2 separate regions of the Homo sapiens genome follow, and region 1 is linked to region 2. Evidence: promoter capture Hi-C in human tissues and cell types (Jung and others, 2019). All regions are on one chromosome and are shown on one strand. The core of a region is centred on a gene start or on the middle of the fragment in contact, and the rest is flanking DNA. Distances in the headings are between cores, read along the strand shown. Region 1 overlaps ZFAND3 (zinc finger AN1-type containing 3). Region 2 holds the start of CMTR1 (cap methyltransferase 1).

Region 1 (6,161 bases), core at 2,185-4,684, 490 kb after region 2:
ACAAAGACTTGCTCAATGCAGGGTTTCCATAAACCCTCAACTTGTAAAAAGTACAGTACCTCCAAAGTGTGGTTAACTGTAGTGCTATAAAACCAGGTATGCCAGCCGGGCACGGTGGCTCATGCCTGTAATCCCAGCACTTTGAGAGGCCAAGGCAGGCAGATCACGAGGTCAGGAGATCAAGACCATGCAGGCTAACACGGTGAAACGCTGTCTCTACTAAAAATAAAAAAAAATTAGCTGGGCGTGGTGGCACGTGCCTGTAATCCCAGCTACTCAGGAGGCTGAGGCAGGAGAATTGCTTGAACCCTGGAGGCAGAGGTTGCAGTGAGCTGAGATTGCGCCACTGTACTCTAGCCTGGTGACAGAGCAAGACTCTGTCTCGAAAAAAGAAAAAAGTAAGGTATGCCATGTATAATTACAGTGGTCTCCCTTTATCCATGTTTTCACATTTCGCAGTTTCTGGTACCTGCAGTCAACCATGTTGTGAAAGTATTAAATGGAAAGCTCCTGAAATAAACATAAGTTTTAAGTTGCACACCATTCTGAATAGCATCATGACATCTCATGCTGTTCTGCTCTGTCCTGCCCTGGTGGCGAATCATCCCCTTCTCCAGTATAACCACACTATGTATACACTACCTGCCTGTTAGTAGCTGTCCTGGTGATCAGGTAGACTGTCATGGTATCTGTCATGGTATCTCAGTGCTTGTGTTTAAGTAATCCTATTTTACTTAATAATGGCCCCAAAGCACAAACATAGTGATGCTGACATAGTGTTAAAATTGTTCTGTTAATTATTGTTGTTAATCTTTTACTGTGTCGGATTTATAAATTTGGAAATCTGTTTGTATAGGAAGAACACAGTATATATAGAGTTCAGTACTATCCATGATTTCAGGCTTCTGCTGGGAGTCTTGAAATGTATCCCTCAAGGATAATGGGGGACTACTGTATATCATTGTGTGATCATAGATTTATAGAATGTTAGCGGTCATTGGTCTCAGTAGCTCACTTTATTTTAATGGGTGACAAAACCCAATTGCGACGTCCCACCTTCAAGCTAAGCCCTTTCTTCCCAAGTCATTGCTCTTAACACTACCCCTGTAGCAACTGTTTTTACCCTGAAGACAGAATTATAAAGTTTACAACAGTGGGAGGAAATATGTGTTGGACATTAGAAATTTATGATTACAAAGGCAATGAAATATGATACACAAAAAGCAATAGAATCTCTGGTGATTGTAGAACAGGAATACTTTAAGTCTTTTTGAGGCAGAGATAGAAAAGATGTACTCTTGAGTTCCCTTCTGTTTTTTTGCTGGGGGTTATAACCAGATAATTTTCTCTTGCAAACTCTGGTCAATCTTGTATTTTGTGATGAATAATTAAAATAGGAAATGAATATTTTGAACTTTGAGCTTCACTTGTCAGTGAGCATTGGACTGGGAATAAGGAAAGCAGTTTATTTTCTGCTGTCACCTTTCAACCATTCCTTATCTAGTTTCGTCGTAGGTGTGGTATCCTGACTCTTTCACAAACTCCCTGAGAATGGCCTAGTAGATTGATGTAAGGTATAAAATGTTTGGAATTTGAACAAATGAAAGATGTTGAAGTACAAATGACATTTAAAAAATATGTCAGTGACATTATGTATACATTAAAATTTTTCTTATATGTGCATATTGCTAGATATTGCTTTCTCCTCCTCCATATTTTGTAGATGTTCTGTCGGTATTTTTATCTTACCTGAATGACATGAACAGAAATGTTGCATCGTGTAGAAGTCTTTTTTTGTTTTGTTTTGTTTTTGTTTTTTTGATATGGAGTCTCGCTCTGTTGCCCAGGCTGGAGTGCAGTGGTGTGATCTCGGCTCACTGCAAGCTCTGCCTCACGGGTTCACGTCATTCTCTTGCCTCAGCCTCGCAAGTAGCTGGGACTACAGGCACCCACCACCACGCTGGCTAATTTTTTGTATTTTTAGTAGAGATGGGGTTTCACCATATTAGCCAGGATGGTCTCGATCTCCTGACCTTGTGATCCACCTGCCTCAGCCTCCCAAAGTGCGAGGATTACAGGCGTGAGCCACTGCGCCTGGCCTGTGTAGATGTCTTTTCCTGGATATCCTCCAGCTTCTAGAAGTACCTTGTGCTTTTCTTTCTCAGCCATACAGCTTCCTTGCTAGCCTGTTTAACCTTGTAGTTTGAACCCTTGTAACTCTATTATCTCCCAGGTTTATGTCTCATTTTCTGACAAGGAAAGATCTAATAATAATACTTTAGGTTACTTTTCATCTTTCATTAAAATTATCATGCCTTTGATTTAATTTACCATAAATATGGATAAATCAGAGCCTCTCTCTGTAAGCCTGAATTATCTTAATGAGAGTGGATGAGTGGATGAAGCAAAAATATTTGGCACTTGGGTAGGACAGGTGAATATTTAATTATTTTGACACACTTTGGGAAAAAGTACTCTGAGCTCCATAAATGTTGTTGTTCTCCCAACCCCACCTATTTTCAAAAGCAACATTGTTAGCCAGAAGAAAAATAAGGTCAGATAATACCTTATTGTTATCTCTCTTAAATTTGTCATTCTCAGTTTAATTCTCAGATACTTGCTCTTGTACTAGATGGTTGGGAAGTTTTCTGTGTGTTTTCAAAACATGAAAAATGCCTTTTTTTTTTTTTTTTTTTTGAGACGGAGTCTCGCTCTGTTGCCCAGGCTGGAGTGCAGTGGCGCAATCTTGGCTCACTGCAACCTCCGACTCTCTGGTTCAGGTGATTCTCCTGCCTCAGCCTCCCGAGTAGCTGGGATTACAGGCATGCGCTACCACGCCCAGCTAATTTTTGTATTTTTAGTAGAGACGGGGTTTCACCATGTTGGCCAGGGTGGTCTGAATCTCCTCACCTCATGATCTGCCTTGGCCTCCCAAAGTGCTGGGATTACAGGCGTGAGCCACCGCGCCGGGCTGAGAGATCTTATATATATGTTCACCCATTTTGTCCTGATGGTAACTGCACATGCATATTTAAAGGTCATGGATTATATAAAATTATATGTAATTTGTATATGCTCGTAATATAAATTTTAAAATGTTACTTTTCCTAGTTATGAACAGATTTAAATTCTCCATGTCTGCACAGACATCAGACTTCAATATTTACCAAATTATTATTTAATATTTACCAAGCCGTTTTAAAAGTTATTGACCATGGTTTTTCAGAGAATATCACATTCATTTTTTTTTTTAGCCTCCAAGTTGTTTGAGATAAAGCACTTTAAAATCTGTAAATGTTGCAGTCACTGGAAAATTTATCCCAAGCCACAAGAATTCATTCATGTAACATTAGGAGAGTTGTCATCATCTTGACGTCATTTATGATCTTCCTCACATTTCAAGGCTGTTACTGCATTGCTTTCTAGAAGATCTTCAGAGGCCTTCTTCAATGGCAGCTACTATTTGTAATCACTCTCCAGAAATAAGTATTAAATCTGTGTTTAAAACCGAATCCTCCCCTTTTTATAAAACTAGTTTGTTGTTGTAACCATGACAAAGTATCCAATATTAGAGTTGGCTTGACATCCTTCCATACCTCAGTGTCCCTGACTAGTGATGAGAACTTCACTGTCTCAGCCATTTCACAGACTAACTGGAGAGATGCCTCTGGGACTGGGACTCTACATTCCTCTTTTGAAATCCCAAACACCATTCCTTTCCCTGGGCATGACTGCATACTTGGATTTCTCTTTCTCACTTCCAGGTTTTTTTTGAAGCTTTTTTTTTTTTTTTTTTTTTGGCCCTTGTTAGTATTTAGTATAAAATAATTGGTGTCTGCCTCAAAAGTAAGGATTTAATTGTAAAGCAATTCCTTCTTTCTGAAAGATAACTTTAGGGAAGAAAACCTTATCTTATGTTTGGGGATATATAGTGGGACAGTTGCAATCATTGTATATATTGGGTGTGTTAGAGTTGATAGCCTCATTAAGTTTCTCTTATGTGGAAAAATTATTTGGCATTTTAATTCACTTCATTGTTTTTTTTTTTCTCCTTTTCTACAGGGGCTTTCATTCATATATTTTAATTTTTCTTGTTCTTCTTTTGACTAGTTTATTGATGGCCATGCCTCATCTTGTCTGTAATTGTTAGATGGTGCTGGACTAAACTTTCAGTAATATATACAGGGCCACAGATGATAATGGGACTAGTTTTACATCTATACACTATAACTTTTAGTGCAAGTACTTGAAACACACAAAAATCGAGGCATTTTGCTCTGCTGTCCTTGAATTTGGGCATAAAATGCTAAAACCACTGCTAATTACAGTAACCCACTTGGAATCTAAATTGTTACATTAAAATTAGTTTTTAAAGTGAGCAGGATCCATATTGCTACATTATAGAAACTAATACCCTTATTAACAGCTCCATCTTCTCCATTGTAATATTTCCTTAAAAAGAAAATTTGCAGACATGGTCTGAATGATTTAGAGTGATGTGTAACAGTTTGGACAGGCTGGTTGCACCCCTGAAAGCCTCCTTTGTCATTGCCAGCTAGGATGTCATCTGTTTGAACTGGTCTTTTTCGTGTTTGCCTAGGGTGAGTAGAGAGTGGTGATTTAGTAGAGCTGTTGGCTGCTTCCTGGCTGCTGTAGGAAGTTAGTTTTTCTGGCTATATGTGTATGAGGCGGGAAGCAGATTGTTAGGAGTCTTTAATATTCTAATTTTACCTCTGAGAAAACTGGGATGACTTAGAGTGTAGTAGGTATTGTGGTTTGTTTTTCCCTTCCTTTCCTTTACCACCCCACTCCTCGCCGCCTTCTCCTTCTCTTTGTCCTCTTACCCATCCCTCCCCTTTCCTCCTTTGTCTGGATTATTAGAAGAGGTTGAATTCAGAAATGTGACTAATTTTTACAGATTGTGTTTTTACAGACTAGTTTTTAGAAATGTGACAGTTTTTACAGATTGACTCCCTTCACTGAAGAAGGAACTTTCTTTGTAGTCTAGATTTTTTTAGTTTTATGATACATGTCTAGTGTAGAGAAGTTCAGGGACCATAGGACTGGAAGAGCTTGGTATACTTACGTGCTGGTACTGTTTTTTTTTATACTTTTCTCTATTTTTCTTGTGCCCTAGGTTTTTCCTTCCAGTTGGGTTAAAAAAAAAAAGTTGTTGAGGAACATTGATATGGTGAAAGAGTTGTTTTTTATTTCCATATTTATATTAAAATAGTTTTTTGCATGTGTATGTTTCTCTGAGTGGGGAGAGATAGTAGTCTTGTGTATGTGTCAGGAAAATATTATAAGATGTTTCCAGAATTCCCAGAAATTAGGACTGTTACTAGAATTCCCCAAGATGAATTAGCATGAAGGCTAATTTGTCATTAAAACATTGATATCCTTCAAAATTGAAAAAAAAATTTAGAAGAAACATTTAACAACATAATCATTTCTGCCATCAAGTAAAAATTAAAAAGTACAACAGTGTTGGCCAGGTGCAGTGGCTCATACCTGTAATCGCAGCACTTTGGGTGGCTGAGGCAGGTAGATTGCTTGAGCTCACTAGTCAGAGACCTGCCTGGGCAACATGGCAAAACCCCATCTCTGCAAAAAAAAAAAAAAAACAAACCCACACAAAAATTAGCTGAGTGTGGTGGCATGTACCTGTAGTCCCAGTTACTTTGGAGGCTAAGGTGGGAGGATGGCTTGTGCCCAGGAGGCGGAGGTCACAGTGAGCCGAGATCACACCACTGCACTCCAGCCTGGGCAATAGAGCCAGGCCTTGTCTCATAAATGAAATATAAAATATAAAATAAAATAAAATAAAACGTTGTTGGCAAAGATGTATTCAAAATAGTATGTAGAACTTACCTGGAAGGTAATTTTGCAATATTTACCAAAATATACTTTTTCATCTAGTAAGGTCTCCTTCTCAGAATCAGTCTTAAAGCCATTCAAATACAGATTTATGATTAAAGATTTAAGTCCAAAAATGCTCATTATAGCAATATTTATAATAGGAAAAATTGGGGAAAAACAATTATACATCCAACAGTAGTAAGAGTGTGACTACATTATAGTATTAGTATGTAATGGATTGTCACAGAGCAACACACATGTTTTTGAAGAATATTTAAGGCGTGATAAATATTAAATGTAAA
Region 2 (6,356 bases), core at 2,198-4,697:
CTAAAAATACATAAATTAGCCAGGCGTGGTGGCATGTGCCTATAGTCCCAGCTACTTGGGAGGCTGAGGCAGGAGAATTGCTTGAACCCGGGAGGTGGAGGTTGCAGTGAGCTGAGATTGTGCCACTGCACTCCAGCCTGGATGACAGATCAAGACTCTGTCTCAAAAAATAATAAAAAAAAAAAAAGAATATACTCTCAAGTTAGGTTACAGTTTGTTTACATATTATTAGATTATGTTATGTATGGAGGCAGATTTAAGCCAAATGTAATTTAACAGTGTACAGTTCAGCAGTGTTAACTATATTCGCATTGTTGTGCAAAATATGTGCATTTTCGGTTGCCTTTTAGTACAAGTTGGGAGAAAACGAAGGGGAAAAAAATTGGGAAACTCACTCTTGATTTGACAGTTCTTTGACTTCTGGTTTCCTTTCTCCATATTCCTGCCATTTACTTTATACTTTACCATTTACTTTTCAGAATCCTCAGATAGTTGTTCCATGCATTCTGTCTAAGGTTTTAAATTACATTCAGTGGGAGAAACAGAATGAAATGTGCTGTTTCCATTTTGACAGGAATTGGAAATTTCTGTTTTTCTTTTTATTCTTGGGTATTTTATATATATATGTGTGTGTGTGTATATATATATATAAGAGATAAGTCATTTGTCAGATATATGTATTGTGAATCTTTTCCTCTCATTCTGTGGTTTGATTATTCAATGTCTTAATGGTGTCTTTTGTTGAGTAGAAGCCTTTTATTTTGATGAACTCCATTTTATCATTATTTTTCTTTCGATTAATGCTCCCTGGGTCCCATGTAAAAAAAAATCTTTGTCTACCCTAAGTCTGCAAAAATATTTTCCTGTGTTTTCTGTTAAAAGCTTTATCATTTTAGATTTTATGCTTAGGTCTATGATGTATCTTAATTTGCATTTGGCATAAAGTAAGAATCAAAGTGGGCCGAGCACGTTGGCTCACGCCTGTAATCCCAGTCCTTTGGGAGGCTGAGGTGGGCGGATCACGAGGTCAGGAGATCAAGACCATCCTGGCTAACACGGTGAAACCCCATCTCTATTAAAAATACAAAAAATTAGCCGGGCGTGGTGGCGGGCGCCTGTAGTCCCAGCTACTCGGCAGGCTGAGGCAGGAGAATGGCGTGAACCTGGAGGTGGTGCTTGCAGTGAGCGGAGATTGTGCCACTGCACTCCAGCCTGGGTGACAGAGCAAGACTCCGTCTCAAAAAAAAAAAAAAAAAAAAAAAGATTCAAAGTTCGTGTTTCCCTATATATTTATCTGTTTTTTCCAGCACTATTCATTGGGTATACTCATATACATTAAAAAATAAAATTTAACTTTAACTTGACTATATTTTGAATGCATTCTCTCATTATTTAATGCTTTACATAAAAATTAAATCATTAAATTTGCTAAATATGTTAACTTTTTCAATATAACTCATTTCCTATACCTTATTTTATACCCTTCAAATTATTATTTTGAGAATGGGTCCATAAGCTCTACAAGATTACCAAAAGTGTTCATGTCATAATGCATGCTAAGAAGCCTCAGTGAGGTGGAAAGAAGGACACTAAACTTTAGAACATAGAGAACTAGGTAAATACCTGTTTGCTGCTTCCTAGCTCTGTAATCTTGAACATATCACTCAACCTTCATTCATATTCCACACTTCCACAGATTCAGTAAATATCTATTGAGCACTGACCACCAGCCTCTGTTAAATCTTGTGAATTTAATACAGACAGACAATCTTTCCTGTACAGAGTTTACAGCTGAGTCGGGGAGGCAGATGAGTCCACAGGCCATTATACAACACCGTGGTAAGTGCTTTGATAGTGGAAGGACAGAGTGCTTTAGGAGCTCAGAGGTGGGTCTCCCAACCTAGATTTGTGACATCAGGAAATATTTCGAGATAGGGACACTAAAGTGACTCCTGAGGGATAAATGGACATTAGCCCAGCAAAGAGGAGAAGCATGATCCAGGCAGGGGGCTGAACTCTTAAGAGACATGGCATGTTTTGTTTTGTTGTGTTCTGTTTTTGAGATGGAGTCTGGCTCTGTCGCCCAGGCTGGAGTGCAGTGGTGCAATCTCTGCTCACTGCAACCTCTGCTTCCCAGGTTCAAGCGATTTTCCTGACTTACCCTACTGAGTAGCTGGGACTATAGGTGCGCACCACCACACCCAGCTACTTTTTTTGTATCTTCAGTAGAGACGGGATTTCACCATGTTGGCCAGGCTGGTCTCGAACTCCTGACCTCAGGTGATCCATCCGCCTCAGCCTCCCCACGTGCTGGGATTACAGGTGTGAGCCACCGCGCCCGGCGGAGACACGGCATATTTGATAAACTGAGAAGAGTCAGCATGGGGAGAACTAAGGGATAGCAGTACAAGGCATACCTGAAGAAGGGGTCATGCTGGAGGGTCTCAGAGGCCATTTTAAGGACATTAGCTTTATTCTAAGAGCAATGGGACATCATTGATGGATTTTAATCATTGTTGGGTTGTGACAGGATCAGGTTTAATTAATCAATTTTAAATTCCCTTCTTTTCACAGGTGTTGAAAATTATAAAAATCACTTTGGTTTTGTGAAGAACGCATTAGAGGGATCACAACTGGAGACAGTCACGGGAGTTTGGAGTTACTGGAGAAATTCTGCCGAGAGGGGGTAAGTGCATGAATTGTGGCAATGGGGATGGGGGTGAATGGATGGATTTGAAAGACAATTAGGAGGTAAGCGCAATTAAGTGTATGAGAAACTTTGGGGTATGAAGAAGAGGGAGATTCCTCAGATTTCTAGCTGGACCAACAGGATGGATGGCAGCGCCCTTCACCAGGAAAAAAGTGAGCTGATGGAAGAACATAAGGTGAAATTTGAATTCATGGGGTTTGAGGTGACTGAGTGAGGATGTCCAACAGACGTTTGGCCATATTGGCCTGAAAATCAGAAGAGAGGTTTGAGATGGAGAGCCAACTGTGCCCATATGGTAAGATGCTACAGGCGGCATTCCTTCTGTCCTCCCGTCCTTCGTTCAAAATCTGTTGAGATGTCCCATAGGCTGGATGTTGGGGATACAGCAGGGAACAAGAACACTGCGTTCGCTCAACCAGTTTACCATCTACCTCTCTGAACTTGTTCTTAGTCTGTAAAATGAAGATAATGATAAGATTAAGTAAGATGAGGTCGTGTGAGGGCACCTAGCACTTACAATTTTTGTATTGGTTTCTCTTCCTCAGAGCCAAAGGAGGAGATAGTTACTTTTGCTTTTGCAGCCTTTTCCGGGCGGCTTTTCCGCGCAGGCGCCCCTGGACCTCCCAGGTTGAGAGGTGGAGCGGGCCAAACCTCAGCTGCCTTTCCCGGGGCCGGGACCCGGCCGGGGGAGGACCGAGGCGCGGCGCTGTCCGTGACGTCATCAGGCTGCGCTGCCCGCAGTACTGGACCCGAGCGCGACGGTGCGGCTGGCGGACCCGGGCTGGCTTGTGGGGAAACGAAACTGAGGGAGGAGGCGGCGGCTCTGGCAGCGGCGGCGACAGTGTCGGCCTGACCCCCCCTCCGCTCCCCGGCAGCTCGCTCTCTCCCCTCAGCGTGAGTGCCGACGCGCGGCCCGGGGGGAGCAAGCGGGCGGGCGCGCGGGCTCAGCATCCTTCTCCCCTCCACCGCCGCCTGGGCCCCCCGCCCGCGGTTATGGGTCTCCTCGCCTTCTGGCCCCTTATGTCTTCCCTCCTCCTCCCACCCCCAACGCCGGCTCCCTGGAGCCCGAGCTGCCGCTGACACACGTCTCTGCGCACACATTCACACGCTCATGTTATCTTCAAATGAAGGGACTGGCCGGGAGACATGGGAGCTTATCTCTTCTCTCTGTGATTAGGGGTGGCAGTGCCAAACCGAGGCCCAGGGAGAGAAGACTGCAGAGGGGATTTGAACCCCTTCTGTGCGGAAGCAGCAGGTAGAACCAGGCCGCTTGCCTTCCGCTTAGAAGTTCCCTGCCAGAGCATTCTGCTGGCATGTGTGGGTCACTTGAGCAGGGCACTGGTTAGCTGTGTGGCCTTCACCTCTGTGGCCGCAGTCTTTTCCCGTGGAAGATGATAGGGTTGGATGAGATGATTTGGAAGGCCCAAATCTAAGGTGATGTGGTTTGGGGAGGAGCATCCGCCTCTCCTGCCTTTCACACAGCTGTTCAACAGTCCGCTTTGAGTTTGCTGTACTTCCAGTCTCCCCCCGAGTCACTTAAGAATTAAAAGCTTTTAGCGCTTGCAATGGCTAGAAGCAAGCTCTGTGATGAGCCTTCCTTTATCTCACCCTGGGGGCCTTTTGGGGGTATTTAAGACTACGGCTTAAAGTGAAATGTGGCTTAGCTTGGTCTTGCTTTCTGTTTGCTCAGTGTCTCCGGTTCTTCCCTGGGACAGCCCCTGCCTGTATCTAGTAAGAGGCTGCTTTCTCAGGAAGGTGGCGGTTGTGCATTGGGTTGATTGGCTCTTCCTTGAGTTGGAGAGAACTGAAACATGTGATCCAGGGTTTTACGAGGTTGGGAGCATCAGTGACACTTTTGGGTTTCAATACTTTCTTGCTGTACCTCGCCTTCCCTAAGGATTGTTTCCCAGCTTGTCGCCCACCCTGTATTGAGTCCTCTTTTCTGAGTTCTCTACAGCCAATCAGTTGTGTGTAAGCCACACTGTATTCACTACTTCTCTTGCTTGCTCTTTAACTTGATAATTCGTTAAGATTTCAGGGTTTCATAATCACTTCATTCCATCTTATTTTTTTCTCGTGCTTATCTCTCATGTACCTAACCATGGGGATGGATGATTGATGGTGGCATGGTGCCTGTTTCTTTCTTTTTTGTTTTTTTGAGACGGAGTCTTGCTCTGTCGCCCAGGGTGGAGTGCAGTGGTGTGATCTCGGCTCACTGCAACCTCCGCCTCAGCAATTCAAGCGGTTCTCCTGAGTAGCTGGGACTACAGGCATGTGCCACCACCCGGCTAATTTTTGTGTTTTTTTTACTAGAGATGGGGTTTCACCATGTTGGCCAGGCTGGTCTTGAACTCCTGACCTCAGGTGATCCGCCCACCTCTTTCTCCCAAAGTGCTGGGATTACAGGCGTGAGCCACCGCGCCCAGCTGGTTTCCACTCTTTTTTGTGGAGGTGGATTTCTGTCCTTAAAATTGTTGTTTTCGTAACTGAGTTCTGTGGTATAGCTACCTCCAGTCCCAATAACTTTCCCGCTCTTGTGTTTCCTCGGTCTTAAGTCATTTCACTGCTTCCATTCCCTACTCTGCTTAAAAACTTTCCCAATTCTTTCATGTTTTCAAACATTATGAAGTAAACCAAAACCAGTATTTTTATGATATTATGTAATTTCTTAATTGTTTTGGTAAAATAATGCTGATGAAACAGTCATTCTGGGATGGTCCCTTCACCTTGGGAATATTGGTTAATATTTATTCGGTTTTATAGTTCATTTTCAGTGTACATTGTCATGCATGGCCAATATTGCATCAAAAGTGTAGAATAACTACAGGTACCAAGGCTTTATCCCCCAGTGGCTTGTGGAGTTGATCCATGACTTTCTGTTATCTGACACCAGTGGCCCAGGGCTCTCTCAGTCTGTGAGCACCACATTTTCCAGTAAAACAGCTATTATTGAAAACCAACACTTGTCTAGCATCCTTCCTAGACCTCATTCTGAGGAAGAGGCTATTCAAGTGCTGGCACTGGAAGATGTGTAGAATTGCCAAATCTCATCCCATTGATGATTTACACTTTGGAATCCCTGCTGTGATCCCAGTGGCTGTGACCCAAGGGCAGCTGACTGACTGGATTTATGGTTACAGTTAACGATGAAGAGGAGAACTGACCCAGAATGCACTGCCCCCATCAAGAAACAGAAAAAAAGAGTTGCAGAGCTTGCCCTGAGCCTCAGCTCCACGTCCGATGATGAACCTCCCTCCTCTGTCAGTCATGGAGCAAAAGGTACGTGTGCTTGTGTGGTCTGAGGCCACTGGCCATCTGGTTATTTGAACACACAGTGTCTAATCTAGGTGGAGCAGACTATAGTCCACTGCCCCTTGGTCCCTTGAGGAAAATTAGGAATACTCTACAGAGAGATGTTGGCTATAGACTCTTTTCCCTTCTGCCATTCTCCTACTAAGAGTGGGGAAACTTGTTTTAAATAAAAAATGGTAATTTTTCCAGAAGTTGCTTTCTGTTGGTTGTCCTTCAGTAGGTGGCACTCTTGCTGCCTTAAACCAGTTAGAAGTAGTGGTGAGCATTGAGTGCTGTGTGCCCTTAATAGCTGTTAATTATCCTGGGGCTCTTTTGTAAGGGAGGGCCTCTTTGC

What was found. The method cuts DNA at HindIII sites, captures the fragments that hold promoters and counts their contacts. A contact is called where the count stands out against the background at its distance.
Region 1: a fragment that was not itself captured here is called in contact with the fragment with the promoter of CMTR1 in region 2 in 1 of the 25 tissues and cell types used here (spleen).

Annotation. Positions count from the first base shown.
Region 1 is chr6:37,916,275-37,922,435 of GRCh38, forward strand. All of the region lies in intron 1 of ZFAND3 (zinc finger AN1-type containing 3), which reads left to right. Among named protein-coding and RNA genes, the nearest start is that of ZFAND3, 100 kb to the left of the region's middle. The HindIII fragment of the contact is 3,924 bases long and covers 1,473-5,396 here.
Region 2 is chr6:37,429,774-37,436,129 of GRCh38, forward strand. It overlaps CMTR1 (cap methyltransferase 1), which reads left to right and starts at 3,448. Exons shown (of 24, transcript NM_015050.3): 1 at 3,448-3,604; 2 at 5,851-5,989. The coding sequence starts at 5,857. LOC107986531 (a long non-coding RNA gene) reads right to left here and starts at 3,450. Exons shown (of 2, transcript NR_171666.1): 1 at 3,278-3,450; 2 at 2,455-3,162. RefSeq lists enhancers at 3,130-3,631, 3,324-3,603 and a silencer at 3,604-3,793. The HindIII fragment of the contact is 6,430 bases long and covers 1-5,724 here.